2 separate regions of the Homo sapiens genome follow, and region 2 is linked to region 1. The links are contacts of gene promoters, found by promoter capture Hi-C in human tissues and cell types (Jung and others, 2019). All regions are on one chromosome and are shown on one strand. Each heading gives the region's core, a stretch centred on a gene start or on the middle of the fragment in contact. The rest is flanking DNA. Distances are from core to core; before and after follow the strand shown. Region 1 holds the start of CALML4 (calmodulin like 4). Region 2 overlaps MAP2K5 (mitogen-activated protein kinase kinase 5).

Region 1 (6,436 bases), core at 3,740-6,239:
CGGGCCCTGGTCCTGTTCTTAGAGACTTCAAAGGGTCCTGCTGGGAAATTCTCCCAGGGTCTGAAGCCCTTTCTCCTTCGGTACTTGGTGGAGGTGGAAGGCAGCCGGAGCTAGCTCCCCTAAACCCACAGACTCCCGGCCTGACACAGCCATCCCACGGGCTCCCGGCCCTGGGAGGCCCAGGAAGGCCAGCTGGGAGTTCAGGAAAAGTCCCTGAACCGCACTGACTGAGCATCTGATTTAGGGGTAGGTGGGGCTGCCATCAGGACAGGGAGATTCTCGTCCAGCCCAGACGAGGCACCCGGGCCTGTGGGTGGAGCCGTGGAAACACAGTGGCCTGGCGCTGGCCCTCCCAGGCTGGGGCTCAGGGCTCTGTTCTCTCTCCTGCTTCTCACACCACCCAGGTAGGTCCTTAGAGGCCTGGACAATAATAGCCCCTTAGCTGATGACAGCAACAATGACAATTCACGTTGCTGAGCACTCCACCCCCAGGCCCTCGCTTCATCCCCACAACCCTGTGATGCGCCCCCTCATATTCCCATGTGCGGACAGGACATTGAGGGCTGGAACACTGAGAGCCTGGCTGTGGGCAGCTCTGCCCACCAGGCCACACTGCCTTCGGTTCCAGGGCAGACACCACTGAGAGCAGTAGGGTGAGGGAGAGGATGCAGAAGGAGCCCCCCAAATCCCCAGCCCAGACCAGGGGTCCCTTCATATTCCCTAATGAAGGCACTCAGGCCTCCCTGGTAGGATTTCAGGGGGGTCACTAAAGACAGGCAGATCGCCATGTACCATTTAGAGACAAATTCGCGGCCTTTGTGGAGAGACTGAGAGGAAAGCCCCAGCCCCGCACAACTGCCCTTTCAGAACATTCCAGAGCCTGAGCTTCCGAAGGGGCAAACCAAAGTCAGGACCAGGTGGCAGGGGCCAAAAAGGCCCAGGGGAAGCAGGGCCAGAGCCTGGCCTAAGACCCCAGGTTTAGTTCCCATAAAACCCAATTGCCTGCAAGAGGGCCCAGTGCCAGAGGGGACAATGCCATCACCTCACGTCAGGGGGACAGAGAGAGGGCTGCCCCAATCACAGAGCTTAACCTTAGCACTACAGGGGGTACCCCTGGGGACCTCTCATGGCCACCCTCACCTTGTCTTTCTGTCTGGGTTTGCCCTTGGGTGAGGGTGGGCCCAAGGCCCACTGCTCTCCCTGCCTGACCTGTGCTGGAAGGTGCTCATCACACCCTTGGGGTCCAGAATCAGCCTGGATCTGCAGATGGGGGCACTTCACTACTCCCCGACAAGCCCTGTCAGTCACTGGGGGCCTGTGGTCCTTGCCAGCAGCAGGGCCAGGGCTCAAATAGAGGCCCACCTCCTCACAAACCTTCACATCAGATACGTGCTGTCTCCCTGCCTCAGACGCCTTTAAAGACCTGGAAGGCCACATCTGAACTTTGCATTCCTGCACTGGAACAAGACAACAGGGTGCTGGAGACCCAGCTGGGCTTCCTGCTGGCCCCTTCCTCCACCATCTCTTCACTCTCCCTCCTCACCTCCTGGCTCTCCTTCCTGCTTTTTCTCCTGACAGGTCGGCCCTCTAACATACTAGCACATATATTTCACCACGTTCCCCTCCCTCGATGGTGACCCCCTGTGAGGAAGGGATTTTTGTCTTTGAGTTCACTGTTGTATGTAGCTCCAGGCACAAAGAAGGGACACAAACATTTGTTGAATGAAAGGATTAATTGGGTTAAATGAATTGGATTAAAAATCCCCTTTAAGTCTTCTCTTTGAAAATGCAAATCCCCCAGGACAAGAAAGAGACCTGTGCAAGGCCTAGGATAACACCAGCTGTGCTGGATGTTTAACCACCAGCTCTGATCATAAATGTACTTGTGTCCTCTGCACTGTACAAACATAAAGGATGTGTAGCACACAATTTACAAATAATACAGAAATGTACACTATTCTTTATTATAAATTCCATCTAGGGCTGGGTGCAGTGGCTCACGCCTGTAATCCCAGCACTTTGGGAGGGTGAGACAGGAGTATCGCTTGGGCCCAGGAGTTCGAGACCAGCCTGGACAATATAGTAAGACCTCATGTCTACAAAATATTTACAAATGTTTTGTGTGTGGTGGTGCATGCCTGTAGTCCCAGCTACTCAGGAGACAGAGGTGGGAGAATCCCTTGAGTCTGGGTGGTGAAGGTTGAAATGAGCGGAGATCATGCCATTGCACAGAGCAAGACTCTGTCTCAAATAAATAAATTCCATCTAGCCACTTGATTACCACAAATGAGTTTTGCCAACTTTTTTTTTTTTTTTTTTTGAGAGAGTTTTGCTCTTGTTGCCCAGGCTAGAGTGCAATGGCACAATTTCAGCTCACTGCAGCCTCCACCTCCCAGGTTCAAGTGATTCTCCTGCCTCAGCCTCCCAAGAAGCTGGGATTATAGGCATGTGCCACCATGACCGGCTTTTTTTTTTTTTTTTTTTTTTTTGAGACAGAGTCTCGCTCTTGTTGCCCAGGCTGGAGTGTAGTGGCTCAATCTCGGTTCACTGCAACCTCCGCCTCCTGGGTTCAAGTGATTCTCCTGCCTCAGCCTCCTGAGTAGCTGGAATTACAGGTGCCTGCCAGCACACCAGGCTAATTTTTGTACTTTTAGTAGAGATAGGGTTTCACCATGTTGGCCAGGCTGGTCTCAAACTCCTGACCTCAGGTGATCTGCCTCCCTCGGTCTCTCAAAGTGCTGGGATTACAGGCATGAGCCAACTGCACCTGGCCAGTTTTGTATTTTTAGTAGAGATGGGGTTTCACCATGTTGGCCAGGCTGGTTTCAAACCCCTGACATCAGGTGATCCACATGCCTCGGCCTCCCAAAGTGCTGGGATTACAGACGTGAGCCACTGCACTCAGCCCAAGTTTTGCCAACTCTTATATCCATTGCCAACCTATAGTTTCGATTCAACCATGATTTGACAAATGAAGCTGCGCGCCAATGAGTGCGATTCTTTTTCCAATGAATGAATGGTCATTAAACCTGATGTGATCTACTGTTAAACTATTTCTCACCCTTTTACCAAACACATTCATTAAATTGAAACTTCTTTCAAATCTCCATCTCCACTGATCACAATAGGGCTGTCTTTTTAACTTTTTGTACAGATAGATGTAGGGATTGAAACACTGTTTGATCCTACATTATTTAATAATGGCTGGCTTTAACATCCTGCTTGCAAAATTCCTAAAACTATGGCTCTTGCTAGCTGTAGTGAGCCAGCCCCAGCCCACATGTGGGTGACACCTGGCTATGCCTGGCCCAGCGTCCAGCATGTAACTGACATTATTCCCCTCTGTCCGTGGCTCGCAGCAGCCTGGTAAGGTGGCATATCCTACTTCATAGGTGAGAAAACCGAGGCTCAAGGGTGATTAGGCTTCAGGTCTGCTGCCTCCAAAGCCCCTGTTCTTCCCACTTCGCTAGGCCACCCCATCCAGTCTTTCACACACTCATTAAACACTGGTGGCCACTTTCTTGGTGTCAGATACTGGGATACAAAGACAATTTACCTTCTTCCCTTCTGGGAGCTTTGGCTATCCCAGGAGGGAGGGTCAGTGAGCCTCAAAACCAGGCATGGGTGGGAGGATGCTGAGGCTGAAGGCTGGACTCCAGCCCTCAGTCCACCATTCATTATCACCGTTAGACCTGGACAAGAGGGCACTGCCCCGGGCCCTGTGTTTTAAAAGTCCCTGCTCCTGCCCTGGCCCTCCTCTTGGGATAAAGAGTTCCAGGGTTCTACGTGGAGGTGCCCACCTGGAGCTCACAATTCCTGCCCCTCTGGACCAAGCTCAGAATACCCAGAACTCTGGAACTCCTGCCCAGGTAACCCTAACCCCACTTGGCTGGGCTCTCAGGACCCTACCCTGGATCACAAGGGCCCAAGGTGCCTGTAATTTTATCTCCAGTGGTCAGCGAAGGACTCACTGAGAAGGCGATGTTTCAGCAAAGACCTGGAGGAATGGGATGCCTCGGGGGACTCTCAGGCCCATTGACGTCCACTGTTGGGACAGGTTTCAGGGTCACAACCTCAAGCAGCAGCTGGCTGTGCCTCCTGGGCCTCTCCTGCCAGGTGCAGGGGGGCTGCAGCCATGAGGCTCCCCTGGCTCAGGTCTGGGCCCCCAAGTTCTTTGTAACGCAACTCTTTGCTCTTGGCCTTCTGGAAATAGAACCCTGCACGGTGTGAAACTGAAGCCTGGTCGAGGGCTGGCAGAGTAGGGGACCCAGGGAATAAAGTGCTCACGCCCAAACCAGGCTTGATGCCAGGGCAAAGGGGGCTCAGTGGACCCTCCATTTTACAGATAGGGAGACTGAGGCGCAGAGAGTAGACGCATCCTGCCAGAGAGTGCAGACCTGGCCTCTGTTCTGTCTCAATTACAAAGCCCCTCCTCTTTCCCTGCTGCCAGCCATACCTTTAATGGTCTCTCTCTCCATCCCCAGTCCCCTCAGTCCCCAAATCCAACTGGTCAGGTTCTGGAGGGAAACCTAGTAAGTTCTGTCTTAGCGCCCTGGCTTGTAAGTCACACTGACAAGTATAAAGCCACATGTCTATTTTGGAGGCTTACCCCCAACCCCCACCCCGCCAACAGCAGCCTCCCCGCAGCTCTTGGCCCTGGGTGGGCCCAGCTCTCCCACAGCCACCTTCCTTCCCACCAAGAAAACATGAGCAGAGCAAATTGCCTAATGAGACCCATATTTTGCTGAGTTGCTAATCAAAGAACAAACCCAACCTACCATTAATTTGGTCTTGGGAAAGAAACTTGGCCTGCAGCAGAGAAAGGAAAACAGTCAGGGGAGGGCTCCACCTGAGGTTCACGCCCCCAGCCCTGGCCAGGCCGACACAGACCCTCACACTCACCATTCTGGGGCCTCGGCTGCTACCCGTGGGCTTGCTGCTCCCAGAACCGCGTTCAGTTCCCTTTCCTCCAGCCTCAAGTCTAAAGTCTGCCAAGCTGGGTGGAGGCCCGGGTAATAAATGCTCGGCTGCCATGGAGACTGGGCCCGACGCCACCAGGGTCAGATTCCAGCTTCCTGAGCACAGCTCATGACCCGCCACCTGGGCAGGTTGGATTTTTGAGGAAATGGGGCTGCAGAAGGCTCTCCCTGGGCTCAGAGTCTCTGCCTCCAGAAGCCGAAGCAAAGGGACAAATGCCAGTGTTTCTTCCCGGGAGCCCTGGACTCCAGGAAGGGGTCTTCTCTCTCTCTCCTGGGACTCGGCGGGGATGCCATCAGGCCCCTACTAGAGTTGGACACTTTACACCCCGGGTCGTATTGAAGGCTCCTCACACACCATCTTGTAGGAGGAAGGGAACCCTTCCAAGACGGCCTAACTCAGAGATGGGCACCGGGGCTCGCAGGCTTGGGGCTCGGTATTGCAGGGATACAAGCTTCGGTGCTCTCAGGCTGGGATTCAGTCCTCCCCGTCTGCTGACTTGCTGAGTGACTGGCGAATCATTCTACCTCAGTCTGTGCCTCAGTTTCCTCACCAGCTGAATTACAGGGCAGCTGGCAAAATCAAGTGGCCAGCGCACAGCCGGTTCCCATCCTGTGCCAGTTCAGTTCCCACCTTCTGAGGACTTTAAGGGTGGTGGAGGGGCCTGAGCCGGGTCTCCAGCCCCACCACAGGCTCCTCGGGGGCTTGGAGTGAGGCCTCTTAGTGCCGGTTACCCTGGCCAGGAAGGCTCCCCTTTTCTTCCTTCCCTTCCTCTCTCCACCCTCAGCCCCACCCCTTCCGCAGAAGCTGCTGACGCTCCCAAGTCTTCAGGAGTTCGTGCTGCTCCCCTCCCCCACATAGGAGGAAATGGGGGCAGGGTGTGAGGCCTCCCCAGCTTCTTCCCCTTGAGATCCCATTTCCCTGTTTGGGGCGTGAGGCTTTTGTCCACAGCTGAGTCTATGAGGCTCTACAAGTAGGTGTGGCTGCACAGGTGTGCCCTACACAAAGGCCCCCAGCCCAGGTGCGAGTGGTTGCTGGCCAGGGGCTGCACTGCCAATAGGAAGGGGGGCATTGTGCCACTTTGCACACAGGCGCATAGACGGGAGGCGCTGCCTGTGCCCCACTCTCCCCTCCCCGCTCCTTTCCTGACCGCCTCTGTGTGGAAAGTGTGCTTTTCTCCCAAATCACATCCCCAGAATCGCTTTACACCTGTTTCTAGACCCAGAGAATTTTAGCTGGGGACTCCGACTCCTCCCTGTCAGAGTTTGAGGCTCCCCCTCCCAAACCCCATGGCAGGGATAAGAGGAGGGAAGGCTGCCTCTGTGCAGAGGATGGAGAGAAGGACATCAAGGAAAGTCACTTGGGACTCTGGAAGCCTGAAGGCGGCCAGGCCAACATGCTCCCTCTGAATCCCCTTGCCTGTGGGAAGGGGCTCCAGAAGAGATGAGGTGCCTCCTTG
Region 2 (6,602 bases), core at 181-2,680, 420 kb before region 1:
ACTGCAGTCTATTACCCAAAAATAATAAGGCTCTTAATAAAATTGGGAAAAAATGGAGGAATGAGAAAACAGTAAACTTTGTTGGCACAGCACCGTCCTAAGGTGTGGAGACTGTTCTGGATACTTCTCAGCCCCTGATCTCACCTTGAAATTCTGCTGGTCTGAGGCAGCTTCCTCTTCATGGACCTGCAAGTGTGTTGCCTTTGATGTTGATTTATATGTAATTAGGGAACTACTTTGCTTTATATATTTGAGTCCCTGGTTGCAAGCATTATTTACTTAAACAATGTATAGCTCTGGGGCCCCCAGGCCTTCTCCCCTTTTTTTTATATGGAGATAAGATGTTTCCAGAAATTTGATTTGGCCTCAGCCAGTCAGCAGCCTTTTGTCCTGCCTTCCACTCACCTCCTTGTATCACTGCTGGGTTATACAGGCTGTCCCCAGGAAGGTAGCCTCAGGCTGTCTTAAGTTTGGAAAGTATTTCTCTATTTTATAAATACTCTGCTTCATTATTGAAGGTAGATGGGTAAGAGAGTCACCTTGAGCAAGTTACTTCACCCCTGGAAACTTTAGTACCCACTGCATGGAAAGGGGATAATAGTGACCAATTTACTGTTACTGTTTTTGTAAAAAGGCAAATAAGGTGAAGCACATAAGCACTTAATATAGTAGTTGGAAAATAATAGGTTCATAAGCAATGTTTATTCCTGCCATCATCCATATTTATTTGCTAAAACTAGTTTTTAAATTATGATTAAAAATTTGGCCAGACATGGTGGATCATGCTTAATTCTAGCTCTTGGGGGGCTGAGGCAGGAGGATCACTTTCGCCCAGGAGTTCGAGACCCGCCTGGGCAACATAGTGAGACCCTGTCTCTACAAAAACTTAAAAACTAGTTGGACATGGTGGCACTGCCTGTAGTCCCAGCTTCTCAGGATGCTGAGGTGAGAGGATCACTTGAGCCCATGAGGTAGAGGATGCAGTGAGCCATGATTGTACCATTGCACTCCAGCATGGGTGACAGAGAGAGACCCTGTCTCAAAAAAAAAAAAAAAAAATTACACAGTACAGAAGGATATACAGTAAGAAGTTAGTCTCCTTCCAATCCTCCATATCTTCCAGCCCTAATCTCTAGAGATAAGCATTGTTAATAGTAGCTTGGGTATCCTTCTAGAATTTTTAATTCTTTTTATTCTGCACCTTGCTTTTTTACTTAGTGAGTCATTGAGGTCTTTCCATATAATATAAAGATCAACCTTATTCTTAATGGCTGTATAGTATTCCATACTATGGATGTATCATATTTATTTATCCAGGACCCTGTCATAGGATATTTTGACCATTTCCATATTTTTTTGTTATTAAGACAGTGACTGTGTCTCTATGTATACATCTTTGTATACTGGATATGAGAATGTTAGCTCTTCTTCTTCATCTCTTCTGATACTAAATTATCAGATTTTAATCTTTGCCAACCTAATCAGTGGCAAAATGGTATCTAGTTGGCCAGGCGTGGCGGCTTAACGCCTGTAATCCCAGCACTTTGGGAGGCCAGGTGGATCACCTGAGGTCAGGAGTTCGAGACCAGCCTGGCCAACATGGTGAAACACTGTCTCTACTAAAAATACAAAAATTAGCTGGGTGTGGTGGGGGGACCCTGTAATTCCAGCTACTCTGGAGACTGAGGCAGGAGAATTGCTTGAACCCGGGGAGGTGGAGGTTGCAGTGAGCCGAGATCGCACCATTGCACTCCAGCCTGAGCAACAAGAGCAAAACTCTGTTTCAAAAAAAAAAAAGGATCTAATCATTTTAATTTATGTTTATTTTATTAAGTATGAGGATTAACACTTCTTTCATATGTTTGTTGGTCACATTTTTTTTTTCACATTCTTTGCCTGTTTTTCTGTTGAATGTGTTGTCTCTTCCTTCATCTTGTTGAAGATTGATTTTTCCATCTAGACAGTGAAGGGGGTGGACACAATTTCCAAGGCCCCATCCCACTTCTGCAGTCTGTGGTCCAGGCCCGAGTGTCCTTTGGGCAGCTTTTACACTACCAAGGTGCTATTTGCTCATGACCTTGTCAAGCAACATTGAGGTTGAATAGCCAATAGCTGGGGGTAAACTACAAGAGAGTCGTTTTCTTTTCCCTTTGTTTGGTTGTGTATCTTTCTTCCACTCTTAAAAAAGCAGGCTTGGAAATTGCAAGGCAGAGCTGGATTGAACTTCCTTTAAAGCAGCCTGTAGACATCAGGAATATTTATTTTTTCTATTTGTTTTAAGCCTGGGAAGACTGTGTGGTTTTCTCAACACTGTCCTGATGGAGCCCTGACCAGCAAGCGTGCAATGCCCCTAGCCCTAATGTGCCATTAATGATAGGTTAATGTACAGTATAATGTTTTTGGGACTACGGGTTCATTACACTTCTGAGTGTGAGGTCTTTCCACAGAGCGCCCAAGGTCCCATTGCATTATATCATGCAATAAAAATACCCTTTTCATATCACACACTAATAAACTGTATTTGAAATGCTGTCTGAGGGCACTGCCGTCTTGTCTGTAGGCTGTGCACAAGTGCAACAGTTGGGATTCCTTTTTTCTATTTTGTGGTTTAGTTACATGGAATTCTAAACCCAGAAGTCTGCTCATTCTTGTTTTAAATGGGGAGCAAGTTGGGTCTTTAGGGCTGAGGCTCAGAGGAGGGGCTGCTTACTGAGTGGTGAGGGTCTTTAAGATGTGGAGAGCAGCCTTTAATTCTCTACTGCAGCTGTCAGGAGAGCCAGTCACATAAAAACAAACAAACAAAAAAAAAAAAACCTGTGTCCTAATGTCTGCCACACTTAGTGCTGAACATGTGTTAGGTGTTATAAAAGTTTCCTTAGAAAAGGAGTATGATAAGTACTGCAAAATTTAGGCCACTGATAGTTATGACTATGGAACTGCCTCTGGGCTGGGAATTTCACACACACTGTCCTGTGAGGTTGATGCTGTTCTCCATATTTTACAGAAGACGAGTCAGAGCTAGGGGGAATAAGCTGTGTTGTAGAGAATGAAATCCATAGGACTCCTGGAAACCACAGGTAAATTATTACCTGTCTACCCAGAGAGAGCTCCTCACGCCATGAATAGTCCACCTGTGAGACATCCGAGCTGCAGCTGGGCAGGAGCCAAGCATCTTCTTTTCAAATGCACATGGCCCTAGTGCCCTTCTTAAGTTATTCATACTTTCCTGTGAATTGGCTTAATGTCAGCAGTTAGCTGGCATAAGATGACTTTGAAGCTTTGGAAGAGGAGACTCTTCTGCATTAAACAGGAAAAGGGGCATTGGAGTTGAGGGATGAGGCAAAGACTGAAGGATCAAAGGGCTTCAAATCACCTGTTTCATATTTTCTCTAAGGCAGACTCTGACTTTGTTATGCAGGGGCTTGTTTTGACCACTTGTGGAGTGTGGGGAAAGACTGACCTGTGAAGGCCAAGAACCTCAAGAAACTTGGGCTCAGGCATCATTACCATCTTAGAGTGCAGTGTCCTTGTTTATAAAATAGGTTATCATTTACTTTCTGATAGGGCTTTTGGAGATCACATGAACTAATGTAAATGAAAGCACCTAGTGAGCACCTGGCACAGGGTAAGTGCTCACAACTGGCTGCTATTATATTGCACATCATCACAAAAGGCACAGGTTTGGGAGCTGACATCCAGTGCAAATCCCAGCTCTACCTTGGCCAAATCCACAAATTGAGGGAAGTAACAGTAATGCCATCCAGCTGCTTTATGGGGTTGTTGTGACACTGAAATAAGATAATGAGCTTGAAAGCCGGTTGTAGAATGAAAACCACTACTCAAATGCTGGTATCAGTAAATATAAGCATTTCTCTCTCCAAATCAACATATTCAAACTGGGTTGTCTTTAAATAAATATCCTTACAGCAAAGGCAGTAGGAGCAGCTATTAGGAAGATTCACTGATCTGTTCCCCTCACCACCAGGGAGAATGTCATGGCTGCAACAAAGACTTAAAATAGCACAAAGCATATAAAAGTCAGGGCAATTCTTACCTCCTACCTCTTCATAACGACAGAGCACCAGGCAGAGGAGGGGCAGGGCCAGGTCTCTGCTCACCTGCATTGGTGAGAAGAGAGCCAATACCTGCTCAATGTGGACAGTATTGCTTAGAACAGTGGTGGGAGGTCAGGTTTGCAAAAGGAGGTTAAGATCAAAGGAACTGTGTTGAAGGGTTGAGTTGGTCTGGTGGAAAGAAAAAAACTAGGACGTTGCTAAGACCCTCCTGCAAAAGACTGGACCTTCTGGCTCTAGGCAAAGTCCCCTTAATTGTTATGAGAAGAGTATTTAAATTTCAAGGATAATTAGTTTTTCTCTTAAGGGGTATAGGGTTAGACTAAACCTTTTATTTTTAGATGTGAGGTCTTTGAAACACTTGGATACACCTCTCAGGGGTTAAATCTGTCTTTGGGGCTACCAGGACTTGAAAAATGTTGCTCTGTATCAAGAAAACCAGAAGTGACAAGTTCATTTAAAAAGCCTGGTTTGTCATTGTTTATCTAATTTTCGGGGTTGACACAGAAAATTAAACCAGCTGACACTCACTCTCTGACCGTCTCTCTGGCTCATTTCCCTGGTCCTTTCCTACCTGACCTTGCAACTACAAAATGCTCCAGACCCTAAAATATAAAACTTCCCACTGAGTTTCTGAGTCACCCTGCAGTCATTCCAAGATTATGTCATTGGATGTCATCCCTAATGGTATTAAAAATCAAGATGAAGTTGTAAATCTGCTCTGTGAGATATTTCTTTTCCGCCCCCCGCTTTGACCATAAATCTTAAAAGTAATCAAACTCTCTGCAAAGAAGCCAAGGTAAACTTGGGCCCAAAGCGGCCCCGTATGTCTTTAATGAATTCAGAGGATCGGCAAGCTTGTCTGTCCCCGTGAGATCACATGGTGCTTCATGGCAAACTTTACAGAAAAGTGGGCAAAGTGAGAGCCTTCATTGTGTTTAATATGGATTTTCTAAAACTCACATGGCAACATCATAGGTGGATGAGCTGCTCCATGTAAGAAAATTATTCAGATAACTGTAGTGTATTCTTTATAAAATCAAACTTTAAAAAATTACAAGCAAGAGGTCTTAAATGTGTTATAACACTGCTCTATCCTCTTAAACAGATTACATGCATCAGGATTTAATTTTTTACAAAGTTAAATTTACTTCCAGCTACTCGGGAAACTGAAACAGGATCATCTGAGCCCAGGAGTTCAAAGGTGTAGTGCGGAATGATTGTGCTTGTGAATAGCCACTGTGCTCCAGTCAGGGCAACACTGTGAGACCTCATCTCTAAAAAAAAACAAAAAATTCTTTAGCTCATTATTATGGACATTGTCTATTTGCCATGTTCTATACCAGTATCTCCTGATATTGACACGAGTAGGGCCATTTGTCCCTAGGCTGGTTGACCCCAAGCTGGTTTTTTGTTTTTGTTGTATAGTTTTGCTAGTAGATGTCATTTCTTGCTGCTGTTCTTGTTCCTCCCTTTAACACACCTTCGTCTTCTCCTTCTATTTGGCTGTTTCTCTTGTGCTTTTAATTGGGAAATCAGATACTAAGCTTGTTAGAATCAAGTCTAAAATACAAGAAAGCTGGCTTAAGGAAAAGCTTGAGGCACTACCTAAAATTAAAATGTTCAAGTTCTAGTTTAACTTCCATATTCTTAGTCTGAGATAAGGGTGTCAAAGTATAGTGGTCTATAGATTGTAAAGTGCCCCTAGATTTGGAAACTGGCCATTTCACTGTATAGAAAATATACTCTTTGATCACGTTGTATATAAATGTCCAAGTTTGAAGCAATATGATTATTTTGATCTTGAATCAGTAATTAAGGTGGACTTCAAACTGTTGAGGTTTTATTTTCTGAGAGGACCAAAGAGTCATGAATGTGCCAGGGAAAGTCCTTAGGTTCTAAAACCAGACTTAGATCTAGGCACATAGAAACCGCTCCACACATCCATAGTGAATCTTATTGAATTAAAGACCCTTGGTAAAATAGACACAGCTACCATTAGAAGGAAGCTTGCAACTGAATAACTTGTCTTTCTTAACAGTGGAAATAGACTTTGGTTTCATGAGGCTCTGCAGTGAAGGTGGCCAGCTTATTTGTAACCAAAGTGTGCTCCCTCAGTCATTCATTCTGCCCATGACCAGTGACACCACCTTGGAAAATGCAGGTCACACCAGTCACCACCATCAAAAACGCATTTCAGGCTTCTGTACATTTAATTTTCTTCAACATTACCTTGGAAACCACAGTAAATCAATAACAGAATAGTTAAATACCACAGGTTCTTTGTGTTTTGTTTTAGAAAATATTGCTCAAGGCTAAGAGTGAGTTCTATTGATGATTTTTATTTGCTGCTGGGATGCAAAACAATCAGAATTTTCGAAGAGTTTGCTTCCTTTTTGTGCATTTCCTTTTTTAAAAAAGGAGGGGTCTGTTTCAGATGGAAAACATTGGTCGCTAATAGCAGAAACTTGAGAATAATTGGTAATTTTCAATCCTGTAGAAAACTAGACTAGGTCTGATGACTTTGAC

Evidence for each region. The method cuts DNA at HindIII sites, captures the fragments that hold promoters and counts their contacts. A contact is called where the count stands out against the background at its distance.
Region 2: a contact is called between a fragment that was not itself captured here and the fragment with the promoter of CALML4 in region 1, in 1 of the 25 tissues and cell types used here (dorsolateral prefrontal cortex).

What each region holds. Positions count from the first base shown.
Region 1 is chr15:68,200,343-68,206,778 of GRCh38, forward strand. CALML4 (calmodulin like 4) reads right to left here and starts at 4,990. Exons shown (of 5, transcript NM_033429.3): 1 at 4,903-4,990; 2 at 4,779-4,809. The coding sequence starts at 4,905. RefSeq lists enhancers at 179-950, 5,689-5,983. The HindIII fragment of the contact is 22,474 bases long and covers 1-6,436 here.
Region 2 is chr15:67,787,931-67,794,532 of GRCh38, forward strand. The region is part of intron 21 of MAP2K5 (mitogen-activated protein kinase kinase 5); the gene reads left to right. Among named protein-coding and RNA genes, the nearest start is that of SKOR1, 34 kb to the right of the region's middle. RefSeq lists an enhancer at 2,924-3,793. The HindIII fragment of the contact is 5,345 bases long and covers 1-4,103 here.